Regions from separate parts of the Homo sapiens genome. Here regions 2 and 3 are each linked to region 1. Evidence: promoter capture Hi-C in human tissues and cell types (Jung and others, 2019). All regions are on one chromosome and are shown on one strand. Each heading gives the region's core, a stretch centred on a gene start or on the middle of the fragment in contact. The rest is flanking DNA. Distances are from core to core; before and after follow the strand shown.

Region 1 (2,803 bases), core at 210-2,709:
AAAGATCCTTGGGGCCTGCAGGCTCTCTCTCTTCATTTGCAACTGCAGAAGTAGAGCAAGAGTACACAGTTATTCAGAATTATTTGCATTTGGCAAATCCTTAATTGATCTCTGGCCACTTGAATAGATTCTTCCAGGAAAAGACATACGACAGTTTTCATCCAATACCCTGGGTTTGGAGCATAACTTATTCTGGAGGCCAAAGAAAAACAAGCCAAGCAGTTTCTCTTCCTTTGGTTCAAAAACATTGAATAATCAGTCCTCATTAGTTTCAAAATCAGCCCTCCAGATTTTAAATGGAGAGAGCAAGTGGCTTAGGAAGGTTGTAGTTAGATCCCGCAGATGTACTCAACCCCTCTGCTCTGCAACTGACTCGGACTCTGTCCAGCAATCAGTCCCCAAGGACTGCCACAGAGAAAGTCCTAAAGGCAACCACGCTCCTCCCTCTCTTCTCTTGGCCATCTCCTGTGAGGAAAACCTCTGTCCTGGCTTGACTTCTGGACACCAGGATGCCTCCCTTCAGACAAACTAAAAAATAGCCTCACGGCACTTGCTGCAGAGGAGTGTGTGTTGTTTAGAAACTAATTTCTCACCTAATACAAATTATCTGTGTCAGATTCAGATTTAATAAGTACTATTTTTGTGTTGAGTAATGTACGTACTTTTTCTAATCCTTAAAACAACCCAACAAACGTAATATTAGAATTCCATTTTTTAAATTAGATGGCCCAAAGCAATTAAGTGACTTGTCAAAAGCTAAACAATTTATAAGCATGAGACTCAAAATTTGAACTCAAATTTGAGTTTATCTGATTTCTTTAACCAATCTTCTCTCTTATTTCCATCAAACTAATGAGGGGATCATCACCTTTCACTGATATTTTTATGGATAAAACATAAATCGCACAGAAATTAAGGGTTAATCTCCCATAAGAATCTGATGTATTAGTCACAAAATATAAAATGAGAGAACCAAGTCTTACCTGGAGGAAGAGATCAAAGATAGCCAGTTCCTTTCAATGTGCTCAGCAAGAGGATGGACCACACACCACAGACTGAAAGAGGAAACTGAGGTAAACTCCACAGCAATTTTGAACAATTTTGCCAGGTGGGGAGAGTGTGGGTGGACACAAGCAGAGGAGATTAGGGAAAAGAAAAGATGAAGGGCATGGTCTCACCCCTGAGCGATCTCTTCTCTTTCCTCTTTCTTCCTGGCCTCTTTTTTCTGGCAGTCAGCAGAGAATTGGCCACGCTGGCAAGGCCACTGACGTGCATCTCAGCTCCCAGGGCACAGAAAGAGCTGAAGCTTTTGAGCCATTTCTTTGCAATTTGCTGCAAGTTTAAGGCCACACGTGATAAAGCTTTCTTTATGGGAGAGAGTGAATAAAAGAAAAGACCACTTGTGATCTTACTTGCTGATTCCCAGAAAACACAACTCCGCAGGGGGCAGAGGGTAAGGAACAGAAGCCAGAGGAGGGCGGAAGTTTATAACAGAGACCCCTCCTCCTTCCAGAAAGTTTTTAAGCCAACTATTCCTTAGGGACATCACTGGGATCCTTGTGTTTTCTTTGTTTGTGTGTTTTGGTTTTGGTTTGTTTTGTTTTGTCTTTAACGGTTCTTGGGCTAATTTGCTACATGGTTTTCTTTTCCATTGGTGTTCTAGAATCTTTAAGGACCAAGTATCAGGTCACAATCAAAGCTCTGCAGCGCTCTGTACAAAAAGAGTTAATTCTCAGAGACATGATCAGTTGCTCATATTTACAATTTCTATGAGTTTTGAAAACAGAAAAGAAACACGTTGAATTTTTGGCATTCAATTGTTTATTCTGCCTAATTCCAAGGATAAATAAATCCTTGCACTGAGAAAGTCCACAATTCTAATACATTCTTTTTCCAAGAGAAAAACTTTAGAGGATCTTAAGCAGTAGTAGTTTGCATTTATTTTCTACCAATAAATAAATTTGCTACCAGAATTATCCAAGATTCACCCTACTCTTAAGTGGCTGAGACTCTGGGATGGTCACTTAATTTTACTGAGTCTCAACTTCTTCCTTTGTAAAGCAGAATTTTTTTGTTTAAAAAAAAAAAAAACAGATTTATAGGGCTGTTTTAAGGATTAAATTATATAATGTATTCAAAAGCACATTGCAAATGAGCGGAAGGTATCATCATTTTATATATATATATATTTAGTTCACATAATGGTCAGAATAGTTAATATTATTCAAGCACATTTTACTACAAAAGAAAGAAAAGAAAATGCAAGAAAAATGGGTTTATATTAAACCTTGCAATGAAGCAATGGTGTTTTCACACTCTGAAAGGCCAAATATTTTACTTTAACAATCAAACCAGACTTTTCCATCGGAAATAGTGAGCAAACATCCGAATACATTGAGTGTTAGTCTAGACTTCTCAGTGTCTAACAGGTGGCCAGACCACTGTTTTATTCAAGAGGAGACAGTATTTACCAGCCCAAAGGGCATAATTTTCCTCACCAAGAAATGAAATTCTCCCTTGAGAATGTAATTTTGTCTATTCCCAACTGGCTCAGTCTCACTCTCCAACACGATTCCTTTTCTTATTTCCAGAGTCCACAGTTAATGTTACTGTTTTGAATGCACATAATGTTTACACTTATTCAGAGCTTCTTATGTGCAACCTTGCATTGGATTGTAGCCTACTTCAGCCTTTCATTCCCATTTCCAAACTCTAGATGAGGGAGTTAACAAACTTCTATAAAGGGACAAATAAGAAATATTTTAGGTTTTGTAGGACCATGCAATCTCTATCACAACCACTC
Region 2 (2,803 bases), core at 131-2,630, 61 kb before region 1:
GTTCAACAATGTACACCATCATAATAAAGAATCTATGATTCTGCAGTTATAAGTGTTATCATTAACTCAACATATTCCAAAATTATTTGGACAGAAAACACATTTTAATATTACACATTAATATTTAAATGTTATATGACTCTAATGCCTGATACGTAGTAGGTCCTCAATTTTTTTTTTTTTTTTTTTTTTTTTTTTTTTTTTTTTTTACCCTCTCTCATTCTGTTTTCAAGTGCTGAGCTTTCATACCATGGAGAGTGGATGGCGTTGATCTTCATGGTGATTATTCAGGCCTTTCCTAGATTAGTATGACTACAGAGCTGACTAAAAATGTTGTTCTCAACAATGTAAAAGTAAAGGTACAGTTAGCATAAAGAGGGAGATGGAAGAGGGTTTGAAGACCTGGAGAGAAGTTAGGAAGTTCTAAGTTTTTCATTTTGCAAAATGCACATAGTGACCTCTGTACTTAGTGACCTTACTATGTACAGGTAACAGAAGAACAATGGAGGATTTGTGAGTGACATTAGTACCAATCTATCAGAGTAGACAGTCAACAGACATTGCCTAAAGTTGGTAAATCAAGAGTAGTCATATGAGTATACATTTAAAGATATGAAAGTGACCATCGAAAAAACCAACAAACAAGCCAGGCACAGTGGCTCACACCTGTAGTCCTAACTATTTGGGGGGCTGAGGCAGGAGCATGGCTTCAGCCCAGGAGTTCAAAGGCAACATAGTGAGACCCTTGTTTCTAAAAATAAACATTTTAAAAAAGAAACAGGAAAAGAAAAGCCAACAAACTAAACTAGTGAGTAGTCAGTTGTTGCCTTTGAGGAATAGAAGTCAAGGTGGGCTAGAGGTGGGTTAGAGGTCTTTGAGGAATAGAAGTCAAGGTGGGCTAGAGGACTATTACTTCTCATTTCAATTTTTTTTTTCATTTTTTAAACGATGTATATGTTTTAGTGTGTTAAAACTTTTCTAATTGCGATGTCCAAATTTTGATTTTTAGCAGAGTTAGTGAAAGCCAGTGATTTGGGATATAGATTAATGCAGGCACAACATGGCTTTTTGAAGCTGATAAACTCCAGTTTAAGTCTTTGCTCCACCAACTGCTAAAACTCACTGGCTTTGGACAAATCACTAACTCTTTAAGCCTCAGTTTGTTTATCTGAAAATATCAGTAACAATACCTTACACATAAAGCTATTTTAATCTTTAAAATTGAGAATGTCTAAGGCATTTAGCACACATACAGAGGGCACTTAATATAAATTGTTTCATTTAATATAATAGTGAATATATTATTATCAAGTATATGTCAAGTCTCAAGTATATGTCAATTTATCTCTTGAATCTCTCTTTATGTACAAGTATAGGTATGTAATATTTAAGTGTAAATTCCATAAATGCTAATGGTCACATTTCTTCCAGCAGTTTTTAGAGGCTTCAGATTGTTTTTAGTTTTTAATAGAAATCATGATGTAATGAAAGAACCCAGCATTGGCTTGCACACACCCACATTGGGGAAGTCATTTAATCCAATTTAAGTCACTCCACCTATAAAATGACATTGCTGTAGCTTTACCTGTCTGAAGGTTATAGTGAATCAGATGTTCAGTGGGGATGCTGGTCACCTTTAGGGGCCATGGCTGCAAAATAAGAGAATAATGTTGCCATTGAACTTGGAGCAATTGTGGGATCCTACACATCAATCACAGCTCTACCTCAAAAGTTTGGTCTTGGAACTGAGGGAATTTCCTTGACTTCTGAAAAGGAGTTTGGTTTAATTAAAAAATAAAGAACTAATTGTGCTTTCTGAGGCATAAAAAGTCTGCTTACCTCTGTCAAATGAGTTTACTTATCTAAAATATGAGGGTTCCTCTTAGTAAATTCAATTTCCCACTAAATGATACCCTCATTTGTTATACAGCTGAGTTTAATGTATGTAATTCCACTTTAAAATTAATGGTTGTGCATAAAAATACGCTTCCTTTAAATTGACCTTCAGTTCTTTCATAAGAAGATCATCATTTATTCATCCTTTGTGTTTTTTATTTTTCAAGTTATTCAAGAATAAATTGGAAACTCTTCTGTTTGGAAATTTACTTGTAAAGAAGTTATTTTTCAAGATATTGTGATAAAAAGCCTTGAAAAATAAAGAGCATGTAGGAGGCAGGATGAAGAATTTGAAGTTAAATTATTTCTCCACAAAGAAATCTCTTGACAAGTGTACTCCTCACCCCAATCAGTAAATATTTATTATGGGTAAGATTCATACAGGGATGACAAAAAGGATTCTTGCTCACAAGTTAGCAGGGGAGCAGCAGGTCTGAAGTAGGCCTGCTGGAAGCAAAACTGGAAATAAAAATTAAAAAGTCTTTATTTTCAAAAATAGCAAAATATAAAACAAGCATCACCAATTCAAATAAATTGACAAAGTTAATATACATTTAGAGAACATTTCCTTCTTTCTCCAACTCCAAATTTTCTATCTCCTTTTTTCCCATTCATATTTGCAAGATTGATATATAAAGGGAAAATTAAAAGAATGCAAATGATTTTGGTTGTACTGTATGATCACTTCACCTGAAGGAGCAGTGGTTTGCACCTGTAGTCCTAACCCTAGCTACTGGGGAGGCTGAAGCAGGCACATCGCTTGAGTTCAGGAATTCGAAGGCAACATAATGGGGAAACGTGAGTGAGGCTGCCATATTTTTGAGCTGGGCCTTCTTGTTGGATTTAGGCTTCAAGAAATGCCTCAAACAGACTGCTCTGGTGGGAGTGTCCTGTTGACGTGTGCTGA
Region 3 (2,803 bases), core at 78-2,577, 44 kb before region 1:
ACCAGCGTTAGAAGTAGGATACTGTATTTATTAAGCAACTCTAGTGATGTAGAAACTAACATTGCTTCCTAGACCAATAGTTTGCAAACATTTTTAACTAAGAAAACTTCTATTCAGCCACATTTTTGTATAAATACCCAAAGTGCGATATATATAAAAGTGAAACAAGGATGTGGGACAAGTTTCTTGAAAAAACTAAGAGGAATCATAGACTCCACAGAAAAAAATTTAAATCATTGCTCGAGATGATTGTGTCTTGTGTTAAAATTAGAATAGGGAGAATCAGTACTCACCTCAGAAGTAATATGTATCCAGGTATGCCACCTAGGGATAAAGTATAGGATGTGATGACTGAAATTACAAGGAAATACAGAAACATTTGGGGACATCCATTGTCTTTCTGACATCTTCCCACTATGCCTGAGGAATTTCCGGATTTAGAAGCTGCAATTCCCACACAAGTGCAGTTGTAAAATATCTGTAACACGATAGGGAAAAGTCCAATTATTTCAGTAACATTTAAATAAAGTTAAAGACAGTTATGTTAAAAATGTTTACCGTAGCCATGCATTATGTAAACAATGAGGAAATATTCTTTTATTTTTTTGTATTACAGTATATTGAGCAAAGCAAAATCTATATAGATACAACATTTCATTATCTAAAGAGCAGATGACTATCTACAAACTACTAATCCTGTACAACAATCTCCCAGCAAATCCTGCCTAATCTAACCATACCTTACCTCCTTCGCTACCACTTCCAATGCTAAGTAACCATGATTTCTTGCCTAGATTGTTACAATGCTCCCTTTATGCGCAACTTGTTTCCAATCTTATCTAGCTAGTATCTGCTTTCCACCCAGTAAGTAAAGTGAACCTTTAAACATGGCAGTCAGACTGCATCACTACCCTCAACCTGCCAGTGGTTTCTCATCATACTTGCATGAAACCCCACATCCTTATAACAGTTTACACTTTCTCCATCATGTAGCACCTGGATGCCACTCTAATCTCACCATTCAGTGATCTTCCCTCTCTTCTTCTGTGTAAGCCACACACATGACCCTTGCAAAGGCCCCATTTTGCCCTTTCCAAACATCCCCTCAAACCTGGCAAGTTCATCCATGCCTCACGGCCCTGCTATTTTCTCTGCCCGGGCAGCTCTTCTCTTCGGTGATTACACAGCTGGCGTCCATACTTTAGTTCTCCGTTTAGAGGTTTTAATAGAGACCTTCTATGACTATCCATTTAAAAAAAAAAACAAAAAAAAACAACTCCCATCTCTCCATCTTCTTATTCTAATGTATGTCTTTTTTTTACAGTGCTTCTTACTACCTATCAGGATATCCTGTATTTACTTATTTTTAAAACATACTTTCCCAACAGAATGTAACCTCCATGAAAGCAGAAACTGCTGCTTTGTTATTATGCAACTGGGGAATGGAATAGACTCTCATTTTAGGCATTTGATAAAACTTAGTTAAGTAAATGGGAACAATTTGAGGATATGACATAATTTACAGTGGCTATGAGAAAAAAATAATTCTGGTGCATAAAACTCAACTAAATTTTGACTGAAGAGAGACAATTTGTATAACCCCTCAATAGTTTATTTCTGTAAATTTTATTTATGAATGCATATATATAATGTTATCATTTTTAATCACAAAAGAGTTTGTGAGTTTTTAGACCATAAATAAAGCTGGCATTTACTTTTCTAGAAAGAGTGGCAATATAGATTTTTTGTAATGTCAAGTTGAAACCTTTGAATCTTAATTCTGGTCGCTCACTAGATAAATGAGTTAAGCAAGTCCTTTGTATCTCAGTGCCTCAGTTCTCACATGAAGAAAATACTGAAAATAATGCAAATTATTTCAGGACCATGAGATTTAAATGTAATTTTGTTCTTTTAACACCAATCTTTAACCTTTCCTTGTAATGTCTTTTATAAATGGTAGCTCTCATTACAAAAAAACCTTCATGCAGCTGTGAGCAAAAATAACAGTAGCTGAAAGAAAAATAACAAAGGAAGAAAGCAAAGAAAAGAAAAAAAGAGAAGCATGAAAACATGTTTCAGATGAGTAGGTAGTCTTATTCATTGTTGCTAGAAACCAATCCTTTCTGCTGTAAATAAGTCAAAATAATAATACAATGAACAGAGTAAATTAACAAACTTAACTGTATATCTGTGGATATACAGCCTAAGTATTCATATCCAGTTGATAAGGATATATAAATAAATGAGATACATGGGTGGTCTAATTTTCTGCCCTCTAGGATTGTCAAATAAAGGCAAATTTAATCAGTCACAAATAGAAAGCAGTCTCAGAGAGCAAGGATAAGGAAGAGTCTGTTTGGGACAGGAATGGAAAGGTGTGCTGAGAAGGGTGAATCTGTTAATGATTGAAGTACTTTACATCCTTCACAATTGCTTTCTGTTAAGGATTGAATATTTTCCCAAAATTCATATGTTGAAATCCTAACCTTCAATGTGATGGTATTTGGAGTAAAGCATTTAGGAGGTAATTAGTTCATGAGGGTGTAGCCCTCATGAATGTGATTTTAGTGCCCTTATAAGAAGAGACAGGAGACCTGTCTCTCCCTGTCTGCTCTCTGCCATGTGAGGATAAAAGGTGAAGATGGTCATCTGCAAACCAGAAAGTGGGTCCTCACTAGGAACCAGTTCTGCTGGCACCTTGATCTTGGACTTCCCATCATCCAGAACTATGAGAAATAAATGTTTGTTGTTTAAGCCACCCATTCTATGGTATATTTGTTATAGCAGCCTGGACTGACTAAAA

The links. Contacts are between HindIII fragments. The study calls those that stand out against the background at their distance.
Region 2: a fragment that was not itself captured here is called in contact with the fragment with the promoter of SLCO1C1 in region 1 in 4 of the 25 tissues and cell types used here (dorsolateral prefrontal cortex, hippocampus, mesendoderm cells and 1 more).
Region 3: a fragment that was not itself captured here is called in contact with the fragment with the promoter of SLCO1C1 in region 1 in 2 of the 25 tissues and cell types used here (liver and mesendoderm cells).

What each region holds. Positions count from the first base shown.
Region 1 is chr12:20,693,988-20,696,790 of GRCh38, reverse strand. It overlaps SLCO1C1 (solute carrier organic anion transporter family member 1C1), which reads right to left and starts at 1,459. Exons shown (of 15, transcript NM_017435.5): 1 at 984-1,459. The HindIII fragment of the contact is 14,433 bases long and covers 1-2,803 here.
Region 2 is chr12:20,754,738-20,757,540 of GRCh38, reverse strand. No RefSeq gene overlaps it. Among named protein-coding and RNA genes, the nearest start is that of SLCO1B3, 55 kb to the left of the region's middle. The HindIII fragment of the contact is 7,970 bases long and covers 1-2,803 here.
Region 3 is chr12:20,737,859-20,740,661 of GRCh38, reverse strand. It overlaps SLCO1C1 (solute carrier organic anion transporter family member 1C1), which reads right to left. Exons shown (of 15, transcript NM_017435.5): 12 at 294-478. Among named protein-coding and RNA genes, the nearest start is that of SLCO1C1, 44 kb to the right of the region's middle. The HindIII fragment of the contact is 7,849 bases long and covers 1-2,803 here.